Regions from separate parts of the Homo sapiens genome. Here regions 2, 3 and 4 are each linked to region 1. The links are contacts of gene promoters, found by promoter capture Hi-C in blood cells and fetal thymus (Javierre and others, 2016). All regions are on one chromosome and are shown on one strand. The core of a region is centred on a gene start or on the middle of the fragment in contact, and the rest is flanking DNA. Distances in the headings are between cores, read along the strand shown. Region 1 holds the start of CAPN8 (calpain 8). Region 2 overlaps TLR5 (toll like receptor 5). Region 3 has its middle 26 kb from the start of DISP1. Region 4 overlaps LOC102724046 (a long non-coding RNA gene).

Region 1 (2,700 bases), core at 60-2,559:
GACCATATGCAGTAATAACAACTACGTATTCTGCATCTATTATGTTCTGGGCACTATGCTCTGAGATTTATCTCTAATTCTCATACCAACCCTGAAAAATAAGGTGCCAGTAAATGCCATTTTACAGATGAGAAAACTAAGGTTCACAGAGTTTACCGGCCCAAAACAACACAGGCAGAGCTAGGATTCAAATCTATCTTACCTAGTTCCAAAGCTCATCCATGCTCTTCTCTCTATACCTCACCATCTCTGAACAAGAGTTCAGGCTGGGTGTAGTGGCTCACATCTGTAATCCTAACACTTTGGGAGGCTGAGGTGGGCAGATGGCTTAAGCCCAGGAGTCCAAGACCACCCTGGGCAACACAGCACAACCCTGTCTCTACAAAAATATGTAAACATTAGCTGGGTGTGGTGGCACGTGCCTATAATCCCAGCTACTTGGGAGGTTAAGGTAGGAAAATCACCTGAGCCCAGGAAGGTTGAGGTTGCAGTGCACTGTGATCGCACCACTGCACTCCAGTCTGGGTGACAGAGTGAGACTCTGCCTCAAAAAAAATAAGAGTTCAAAAGGTGATGGGGGGGCCAGATGCAGTGGCTCATGCCTGCTATCCCAGCACTTTGGAAGGCTGAGGCAGATGGATCACCTGAGGTTGGGAGTTTGAGACCAGCCTGACCAACATGGAGAAACCCCATCTCTACTAAAAATACAAAATTAGCCAGACATGGTGGCACATGCCTGTAATCCCAGCTACTCGGGAGGCTGAGGCAGGAGAATCACTCAAACCCAGGAGGTAGAGGTTGCAGTGAGCTGAGATCATGCCATTGCACTCCAGCCTGGGTGACAGAGCAAGACTCCATCTCAAAAAAATAAAATTAAAAAAGGTGGTGGTGGAGGGATCTGAAATATGAGATCCAGACACTTAGGGTCCACAGCCTCAACTTCTCCCTCAGTTCCTCCTGATCAGATGTAAGGCCCCTCCACCTTGTATGTCACTCAACAGCAAGCCCGCTTCCTTACCGTGGGCCGCTTCCAGATGATGCCTTGAGTTTGCGGAGAGCCTGGTCCAAGATCCTTGTAGCCCAAAGCTGATGGACATGCTGGGAACTCAGGGTCCTTAAATAGGACCCCTGAGTCCAAGCACTGTTGCCTCAGGGTCTTGAAATCCTGGCCCAAGTACTTCAAAGCGTTTTGGTTGGAGCCAAGACCTTGAGTGGCTGCCCGCTGCCTAGATACACCAGCTGCCTGGGCTGCCATGGCCGTGGGCTCTGTAGGGTGGACAGAAGGGCAGGGCTGCACTGTACTCTCAGACACCTGCTCCACTGGGAGGGGAGCTATAAGGCACTAAAGGAGGTGGAGCAGACAAACATTTCACCTGAGGCCCTGTTCCAGAAGGAAGTGAGTCATGGCCAGGGACAAATATGTACCCAAGGTCCAGGCCAATCTGCCCCACCTTCTTCTTCTGCCTTTTGCAAATAATTTGGGGTCTGGGAACTTTCCAGGGCCCATCCCAGGCCATTAGCCTAAGAAATCCATTAGGATCTTGACCCCACCCCGGCATTCCCTCCACACACCTCTTTGCAAGACCTGCTTACCTTGCTTCAAGCCCATTGACTGAGATGAGAAGGCTTATTGAGCAGCTTGAAGCAAATATTCATCAAGGAATTGGAGGCATGGCTCTGAGCAGGAAGAAGGCAAGTAGTTACAGGGGCCTCCTTTCCTGCCAGAAATGTTTTGGTGCATATTTCCTAGGAAGGCAAAAAATACCAGAGAGTAGTGATTCACAGGCCAGATTTGGAATAAGCCTGACTGGAGGAGGTTCCACCTGTGAGTGAACGCTTTGGCCTCTGACTGCCTCGGTTTCTATCCCAGCTCCCCCGGTAATTTGCTCTGTCATGTTGGGCAAGTTGTTTAACCTCTTTTCTCCTAAGTTTTTTTATCTATAAACTGGAAGAGCATAGGAGAGCCTACCACAAAGGGTTGTTCGGAAGAGTGATGAGATAGTACATGTCATCTGCTTAGAACAGTATGAAGTAACATTCAGTGAATGTCAGGTATCACTATTCCTTGAAGCCAGGATTCCCAGAAAGGCCTTGGAATCAGGAGCCTTGATTCCAATCTCAGAAGTGAGTTACAAGCTGTATGACCTTGGATTAGTCACTTCTCTCTGGGCTCCAGTTTCCTACATCTGGTCTACCCGAAGGATGTCAACCACACCAATGCTTTTTGAACTTCAGTGTTTGTGGCACACTAGAAAATGGTCCCCCAAGGATACCAGGTCCTCATCTTGAGAACCTGTAAATAGTCCCTTATCTGGGAAAAGGGTTTTTGCTGCTATGACTAAGTTAAGGATCTCGAGATGGGAAGATTATCCTGACCCTAAATACACAAGTGTCCTAAGAGGAAGGCAGAAGAAGATTTGACAATAGACAAAAAGGAGAGGTGATGAAATGAGGCAGGCAGAGGTTAGCGAGATCCTGCCCCACTCCAGGGAACACCAGCAGCCACAGGAGCTGGAAGGGGCAAGAATGGATTCTCCCCTAGAGCCGCTGGAGGGATGTGGGCCTTCCAACACCTCGATTTCACAGCCTTGGGACTTCTGGCCTCCAGAACGGTGACAGAATACATGTATGTTGTTCTAAGCCACCATATTTGTGGTCATTTGTTACAGAAGACGCAGGAAACAAATATAGTGTGCAGAA
Region 2 (2,700 bases), core at 82-2,581, 540 kb before region 1:
TGATCCACCTGCCTCAGCCTTCAGAATTGCTAGGATTACAGGCCTGAGCCACCGCACTCCGCCAGTGAGTTATTGTGAATGGGGGAAGAAGGGTTGTTTGATATCAGAGGGGAAGTTACAGCAACAGATGTGGGTGCATGTGGCTCAAATCACACATGGAGAATGAGGTAGCTGACTAATATTGGAGGTGTATTTTGTGTATTCTTTTGTGTTTTGGCACAGCTGGGTGCAGTTTTCTGCCTTTACATGCAAGAAATTGCACATAAGCAAATGTGAAATTCACATTCTTGAATATGTTAATATTATTCTCCAGCATATCAATAGTCTTCCCTAACACATTAATATTGTTCCCTAATACATCAATCACGTTAGAAACAAATTTACATTCCAAAACAAGCATTATAGCAGCACTGACTACACTCTAATTCAAGGATTACAGTTCAAATTAAGAGTAGAAAAGATGCAGGTTCTATATAAGATTCTACCCCCTGCACCTGCAAGGCTGAGTATGGAGAACCCGTGGGACTGTCTTGAAAATCAGCCCTGGGAATGAGTGCAGACTCAGAACCTAACGAGCTCAGGGACTTGGGCAGAGTGTGTCACCTTTCACACTCTCAGTGTTCTCATGTTTCATTGAAAGACTTAACAAGATTAGTAGCTCTCAGCCTTGGCTACACACTAGAATCACCTGGGAAGTCTTCAGACCCAGGAAGCCCAGACTGACCACAGATGCATTAAATGAGCCTCTTTGGGATTGGCGGTGGTTGGTGGTGATGGTGGTGGCGGTGGGGGTTGTGGTGTTGGTGGGGGGGTGGTGGTGTGCTCTCTCAGGAATCTGTATCCTTAGCCATTGTGTGAATTTTATACACACTCAAATTTGAGAATCACTGATGGAAACCAATGGTTCTCAAACTTGGCTACACACCGGAATCACCAGGAGACTTTAAAAAATTACAAATTTAGTTGGTGTGGAGTGTGGCTTGGGCATCCAGGGTTGTTCAGAGTCTTCAGGTGACTCCACCAGCAGAGAGTCTGATCACCTGGTCTTCTGGCTGCAACCCTGACTGCAGCTTAGAACCATGTGGGCTGCTTAAAAACAGTACTGACTCAAAAAATGAAACACAGAACTAACTGTCGCATGACCCAGCAATTCCACTTCTGGGTGTACACCCAAAAGAACTGGAAGCAGAAGCTCAACAGATATTTGCACACCAATATTCATAGCAGTATCACTCACAATAGTCAAAGGGTGGAAACAACCCAAATATCCACCAATGAATGAATAAATGAACAAAATTTGTTGTCTATATAATGGGATATTTTTCGGCCTTAAAAAGGAATGGAATTCTGACACACGGTACAAGACGGATGAACTTTGAAGACATTATGCTGAGTAAAATAAGCCAGTCACAAAAGAACAAATATTGCATGAATCCACTTACAAGATATCTAGAATAGATAAATTCAGAGATAGGAAGCAGAGCAGAAGTTACCAGGGGCTGGGAGGGGAGGATGGGGAGTTAGCGTTTAATGGGCAGAGTTTCAGTCTGGGATGATGAAAACATTCTGGAGACAAACAGTAGTGAATGTACTTAATGTCACTGAACTGTCTGCCTAAAAATTATTAAAATGGACATTTTTTATAAAATGAAAATTATATGTCTATTTTACCACAATTAAAAAAATTAAATTAAACCCCCAAAACCCACTACAAATACCCAAACTGGACTTCTCAATATTCCAGTTCCACAGGCCTCTGAGGCCTGGAAAGTGCATTTTATAGCCATATCCCAGTTACTCTGAAGCTAGTGGTCTCAGGCCATGCTCTGAGAAGTGTTGGTCTAATGGATCCCCTCCAACTCAGAAACCAAGTGATTCTCTTAGAGGAAGAAGGGCTGGTAAGAAAATCTGAGGGCTGTTGAGTATTGGGTTTTTATTATTAAGGCTGATTTAACTTGTATCTAGGGCTTTGAGGGGGAAAAACAGAAACAGAACAATCAATGCAGGCTTCAATACTCCTGCCAAGCACTGTTAATTAAGTTAATGAGGCCAGAGGGAGAAGGGTCAGTATCCCTTTCATTTGAGCTGAATTCATTTAGCTTTAATCCCAGCCATTAGCTGGGTTGGTTCCCTTTCTTGACTTCATTGCCTGGACAGCAGAGCTGCTCACTTATGCTTGGGGAGTTATGGGCCATGGTGTCTCTGCAGCAAACACACAGCTTGCATTTCAGGGGTGCCTCTGTTCCTGGGGCACCACAGCATGCGGATGCCTCCAGCTGAGCCAGGGCTGCTCCTGTGTCAAGTTAATGCTTGATCCCTAATAGATAATTCCAGTCACAGGCTCGCTGGCAGGCCTGGGGTTCTGAGCAGGGCTTGGGCTGGCTGTGGTCAGGTGGAAGCTATAGAGGGAATGCTTCTCCTGGCAGGTGCTGGGCCCAAACCTGGAGGGCCATTGGAACAGCAAGCATGGAGGACTCACTGAGAAAAACACTAATGCATTTCCAAATGGGTGTCTGAGAGAGTTTCTCCAAATTCACACAGGTATAAAATTCCTGGACCAATTCCAAAAGTAGGTACAGCATGTGGGTTTAGCCTTGGATAAAGGCTCGAGGGCAGTGAACAAAGTGAACTCTTCCAGGACAAATACATTCTCTAGCTGCATAATACAGCATCCCACCGGAACCATGCCCAACAAATGGG
Region 3 (2,700 bases), core at 15-2,514, 880 kb before region 1:
CACACAAAACAAATGACTTAAACACTATTATTTGCCTTACGCCTCCCACTTCAAGGCAGCCAAACCCCGGGTGTGGCCCCACAGCTGAGGGAGGTTATTTCAGATGTGAGATCCTCCAGTGAGCTTTGTGAACAGCATATGTTTGCAGCACTTGAAAAGGAATGTCTGACTGTACTGATACGGACTCCTACAAAACCCGAAGAGTCAAACACTGGGTCACAGGGTAACCAACTAGCCATTTTCCAAACAGATGAATCCTGGTGGTGCAAATCTCCCTAAGTAATCCCTAGAGGTTCAAGCTCATCAACATTTATTGGGTACTATAATATACAAGGCACTCTGCTCAGTTCCAGTGGTGGGAGTGTGAAGATGAAGAAGGCATGATGCCTGCCCTCAAGGAGACAAAAATATAGTAAACAGAAACTCCATCTAAGTAAGATGATGTTGTAACACCTCTAAAAATGGTTCAGACACAGTGCTATTGGTGAACGGAAAAATGAAGATTTTATTCCACATAGAAGGACTGGCAAAGGCTTAATGGAGCAGGTGGAATGTTCCCAGAGTGTTGAAAACTAGATAGGGTTTTGACAAATAGATAGCACTGGAAAAAGATATTAAGGCTGCTGGAATCTTGGCTGTCAAACTAATTAGCTGTGTGACTATAGGAAAGTCACTTAACCTCTCTGAGTTTTAATTCTCTTATGACTAAAATTAGGAAAATGATGACACAAGGTGCTATCGTCTGAATGTTTCTGTCCCCTGATAAATTTGTATGTTGAAATCCCAATCCCCAAGGTGATAATATTAGGAGGTGGAGCTTTTGGGGAGGTGATGAGTCACTGGGGCAGAGCCCTCATGAATGGGATTAATGCCCTTACAACAGAGGCCCAAGGAAGCTTCCTTGCCCCTTTCATCATGACACAGTCAGGAGGTGCTGTACTATGAACCAGAAAGCAGGTCCTCACCAGACACCAAATCTACTGGCACCTTGATCTTGGACTTCTAGTCTCTGGAACTGCAAGAAATAAATTTCTGTTTATAAGCCACCTAGTTTATGGTATTTGTTATAATAGACCGAACATACTAAGACACAAGGTTGCTCTGAGTAAAAAATGAAATGACATGCATGAGAGCACTTACCGCAGTGTCCAGCACCTAACAGGTGCACCCAGTCATCTGTTCTGCTGTTCCTATGTAAGAGGAGGAAATAGGGTGAGCAGGCTGAAGACTTTGTGGGGAGAATGGGAAGAGGTCTCATTGGAGCAGAAGGTAGGGTGAATGAAGAATATGGCTGGAAAACTGATCTGGGGCCAAGTGGGAGTGGCCCAGTGCATGAGAAGCCCTTGGAGGATGTGCTGAAGGGCCTGTCCTTGATTTGTCACATAATAGTGGACACAGCTATCTGAATCCAATCAGAATACTATTAATTGTTCCTCAAATCCAGTCATAATGCAATCTGAATACTCTATAACTAAATATTAATTTGTAAAGTTTACCTCCCACAAAATTAATCTCCAGCAAAGACTAATCACAACTGTTATTTTAAGAGCAGCAACTTAATACAACTAACTATTAAATAGGTATTAAAGAACTAAAAATAACTAAGGTATCAGAAAGGAAGCAGCTTCAGGGAGAAGCTTTGTTCCCTAGAGCTTAGGAAACTAATAGAAGAATATGGACTTATTAAAACTTGGAAGTATGGAGCAGTATGGCAGTTTCTCAAAAAATATATAATAGAATTACCTAGTATGTAGCAGTTCCACTGCTAGATATATATTCCAAAGAACTGTAAGCAGAGACTCAGAGATATTTGTACACACATTGTATTCTCACACTGCTATGAAGAACTGCCTGAGACTGGGTAATTTATGAAGAAAAGAGGTTTAATTGACTCACAGTTCCGCATGGCTGGGGAGGCCTCAGGAAACTTGCAATCATGGCAGAAGGCAAAACGGAACCAAGACAGGTCTTCACATGGTGGTAGGAGAGAGAGAGAGAAGGGGGAAGTGCCATACTTTTAAACTATTTTGTGTTTTAAAATTTTTTGATTTTGTGAGAACACTATGATGAGAACAGCAAGGGGGAAATCCACACCCATGATCCAATCACCTCCCACCAGGCCCCTCTCCTGACAAGCGAAAATTTCAATTCAACATGAGATTTGGGTGGGGACACAGAGCCAAACTATGTCACCCATGTTCATAGAGGCACTATTTGCAAGAGCCAAAAGATGGAAGTAACCCAAGTGTCCATCAATGAATGCATGGATAAACGTTTTAATTACCTACAATGAAATATTGTTCAACTCCAAAAAGAGAGTAAATTCTGACACATGCTATAAGGTGGATGAAGCTTGAGGATATTATGCTAAATGAAATAAGCCAGGGACAAATAGACAAATATTGTATGACTCAACTTATGTGAGGTACTTAGAGTAGTCAAAATCATAGAAACAGAAAACAGAAATGGTGGTTGCCAGGGGCCTGTGGGAGTGATATGGTTTGGCTCTGTGTCCCCACCCAAATCTCATTTCTAACTGTAATCCCCACGTGTGGAGGAGGGACCTGGTGGGAGGTGATTGGATTATGAAGGCAGTCTCCCCCATGCTGTTCTTGTGATAGTGAGTGAGTTATCACAAGATCTGATGGTTTTATAAGTGGCAGTTTCCCCTGCTCTTTTCTCGCCTGCTGCCATGTAAGA
Region 4 (2,700 bases), core at 174-2,673, 570 kb before region 1:
AAATGGATTGTATGAACGAGTTCAAGACAGCCCCTGTGTATTGGCCCCCATGCTGTTTACTTCCACACCACAGCCCAGGACCGTTAACTCAAGCCTGCCAGCACCAAACTCAAATTCTTGCACATCCAATTGCTTTAAATGTAGGCCAAATATTATTTGCCCATTTAGAGCCTGCCTGCTTCGATAATTTGCAAAACTACACCCGACACCCTCTCACCATAGGTAAGACGAACCTCAGGGCTACAAAAGACCCCAAATGGCTGCTGTCCTTTGGAGCTCTCTGACCCAGAGACTCCTCACCATGATGCTCCCCACCATGAACCCTCTTGGGTTCAAACGATCCTCCAGCCTTAGCCCCCCAAGTAAATGAGACTTCAGGTACATGCCACCAGGCCTGGTTAATTTTTAAATCTTTTTTTAGAGATGGGGTTTCACCATGTTTGCCTAGGCTGGTCTCAAACTCCTGAACTCAGCAATCTGCCCGCCTGGGCCTCCCAAAGTGCTGGGATTACAGGTGTGAGCCACTGCACCTGGCTCCTTTTCTTTTCTTCTAGACCTGTGACATCTCTTAGACCTGTAACCTCCTCTCTGATCCTCCTCTCCCCTGGGAGTGTCCTTGCCCTTTTCTTCTGGTGGTGGCCCTGCCACTGCCTCTGGAAGGTCTTCTGCTGCAAGGGACTTTCCCCTTCCATGCATTCTGTCCAAGCTTCATCCAAATAAAGCTCTTGTGTGCTATTGCCATCTAGTGATCTGGTCTTTTTCTTGATCTTTCCCCAACATTCAAACTCATGAGAGTATAATTGTGTAAATAAGCAGATAAATCTAATTTTAGACACTACCTACCAAGGGGCTTCACTGACGTCTGTAATGTGAGAGTTAAGCAGCTTAGCTAGTAACACTACTGAAACACCACTGTTTTTACTGAAAGATATAATGTATGCAGGGGTCATTCATCACAGATACAGAACGTCCTAAAAAGAAAAAAAAAAAGTAGCATCAAACACATTTTAAATTATAGACCAGAAGAGTAAACAGACTTGTCTTGTTGGTTTTGTTGCTGCCTCGTGGGGCTAATGGCCAGCCCCTGGACAGTCCCAAGGGGGCAGCTCAGTTACCATTCTCAGGAAGAGGATACGACTGTCTACGGCTCTTCCCAACAACAAACACAGAGTAGCCATGCACATCTCAGGAATGGAGATGGAGCAAGAGAAAAACTAGCGATAACAGCTAGAGTTGGTTGCATTTCTAGTAGGTGCTAAACAACATGCAAGGTGTTGTACATGCATTATCTCAGGTATTCCTCACAAAACCCTATTATTAGTCCAAAGCTCAGAAGAGTTCATCAATTTGCCAAAGTTGCAAATCTAATCCATGGTAGAATTGGGATTCAAAGCCTGGTCAATGAGACTCCAGGAAGGACAGGATTTAACCGCCTTGCCCTGTTGCAGAAATTCAACTAGCCTGAGCATTTTGCAATGTGTCATAACTTCTGATAATGGGCTGAATAAAGGATGGCAGCAACATCGGTAGGAATTGCAGTATCTCTCAAAGTTACGGGCCAGGGGAGGGTGGGACAGGTGTCAGCAGACAGACTCCATGGACATGCTACATCCTGGTGTCAGATTTGGGGTACTGACCTCCACTGGGGTGTGTGTGGTGGAACAGGGTTCTGCCTAGTCACAGCCCAGTTCTATCAGATCAGGAACCCCGTCATCCTCCCAGGCTCCTTCCTGGCCACCTGCAGCAGCTGGGCCCAGGGCTGCTTCCATATTCAAGAAAGAGAGACATCGAAGTGACAGGGATGGAACAGAATGCTGAGAGATCAAGGGAAGTTTCTAGTTATTTTCCCATCCACACCCAAGCTCTCTCGTCCTCCGTTGTCAGCCCAGTCAGGAACATCTCGTCACTCACCCCACCTCCATAGGAACTGACCCTCTGTGGATGGTTTTCCATGGCTGCCATAACAATGTGCACTAAGGGAGTGGCTTGAACCAAAGAAATGTCTTGTTTCACAGTCCTGGAAGCTGGAAGTCCAAGATCAAGGTGTCAGCAGGGTTGGACCCTTCTGAGGGCTGTGGGGAGAGTCTGTTCCTGGCCTCTCCCTTGGCTTCTGGTGGTTTGCTGGTGATCCTCGGCTTGTAGAAGCTTCACTACGATCCCTGCCTTCATCTTCACCTGGCACTTTTCCTGCATGAGTGTCTACCTCTAAATTTCCCATTTTTACTTATTTTTTATTTTAAAATTAAAAAAACTTTTAATAGTAGAAAATTTTGAACATACACAAAAATAGAATAGTATAATGAACCCCCATGTACCCATTACATAGTGTCGACAATGACCAACAAATGGCCAATCTTATCTCATTTGTTCCTCCTCCCTGCACCTATCTCTATGGAAATATTTTAAAGCAAATTCTCCTTATCATTTTATTTACATACATGTCAGTCACATGTCTTCTAAATGATAACTTTTTTTTTTTTTTTTTTTGACACAGAGTCTCAGTCTGTCGCCCAGGCTGTAGTGCAGTGGTGCTATCTTGGCTCACTGCAACCTCCACTACCTGGGTTCAAGCAATTCTCATGCCTCAACCTCCTGAGTAGCTGGGCTAACAGGTGCATGCCACCATGCCCAGCTAATTGTGTGTGTGTTTAGTAGAGACAGGGTTTTGCCATGTTGGCCAGGCTGGTCTTGAACTCCTGA

Evidence for each region. Contacts are between HindIII fragments. The CHiCAGO score rates a contact against its expected background, and 5 or more counts as called.
Region 2: a contact is called between a fragment that was not itself captured here and the fragment with the promoter of CAPN8 in region 1, in 4 of 17 cell types (naive CD4 T cells, naive CD8 T cells, total CD4 T cells and 1 more). The highest score is 7.8, in naive CD4 T cells.
Region 3: a fragment that was not itself captured here is called in contact with the fragment with the promoter of CAPN8 in region 1 in 1 of 17 cell types (fetal thymus); the score reaches 5.1 in fetal thymus.
Region 4: a contact is called between a fragment that was not itself captured here and the fragment with the promoter of CAPN8 in region 1, in 2 of 17 cell types (total CD4 T cells and naive CD8 T cells). The highest score is 6.0, in total CD4 T cells.

What each region holds. Positions count from the first base shown.
Region 1 is chr1:223,664,392-223,667,091 of GRCh38, forward strand. CAPN8 (calpain 8) reads right to left here and starts at 1,310. Exons shown (of 21, transcript NM_001143962.2): 1 at 1,019-1,310. The coding sequence starts at 1,255. The HindIII fragment of the contact is 20,763 bases long and covers 1-2,700 here.
Region 2 is chr1:223,124,841-223,127,540 of GRCh38, forward strand. All of the region lies in intron 5 of TLR5 (toll like receptor 5), which reads right to left. Among named protein-coding and RNA genes, the nearest start is that of TLR5, 17 kb to the right of the region's middle. The HindIII fragment of the contact is 9,495 bases long and covers 1-2,700 here.
Region 3 is chr1:222,787,824-222,790,523 of GRCh38, forward strand. No RefSeq gene overlaps it. Among named protein-coding and RNA genes, the nearest start is that of DISP1, 26 kb to the right of the region's middle. The HindIII fragment of the contact is 741 bases long and covers 895-1,635 here.
Region 4 is chr1:223,092,451-223,095,150 of GRCh38, forward strand. LOC102724046 (a long non-coding RNA gene) reads right to left here. Exons shown (of 2, transcript XR_007066892.1): 2 at 1-2,024. Among named protein-coding and RNA genes, the nearest start is that of TLR5, 49 kb to the right of the region's middle. The HindIII fragment of the contact is 1,439 bases long and covers 705-2,143 here.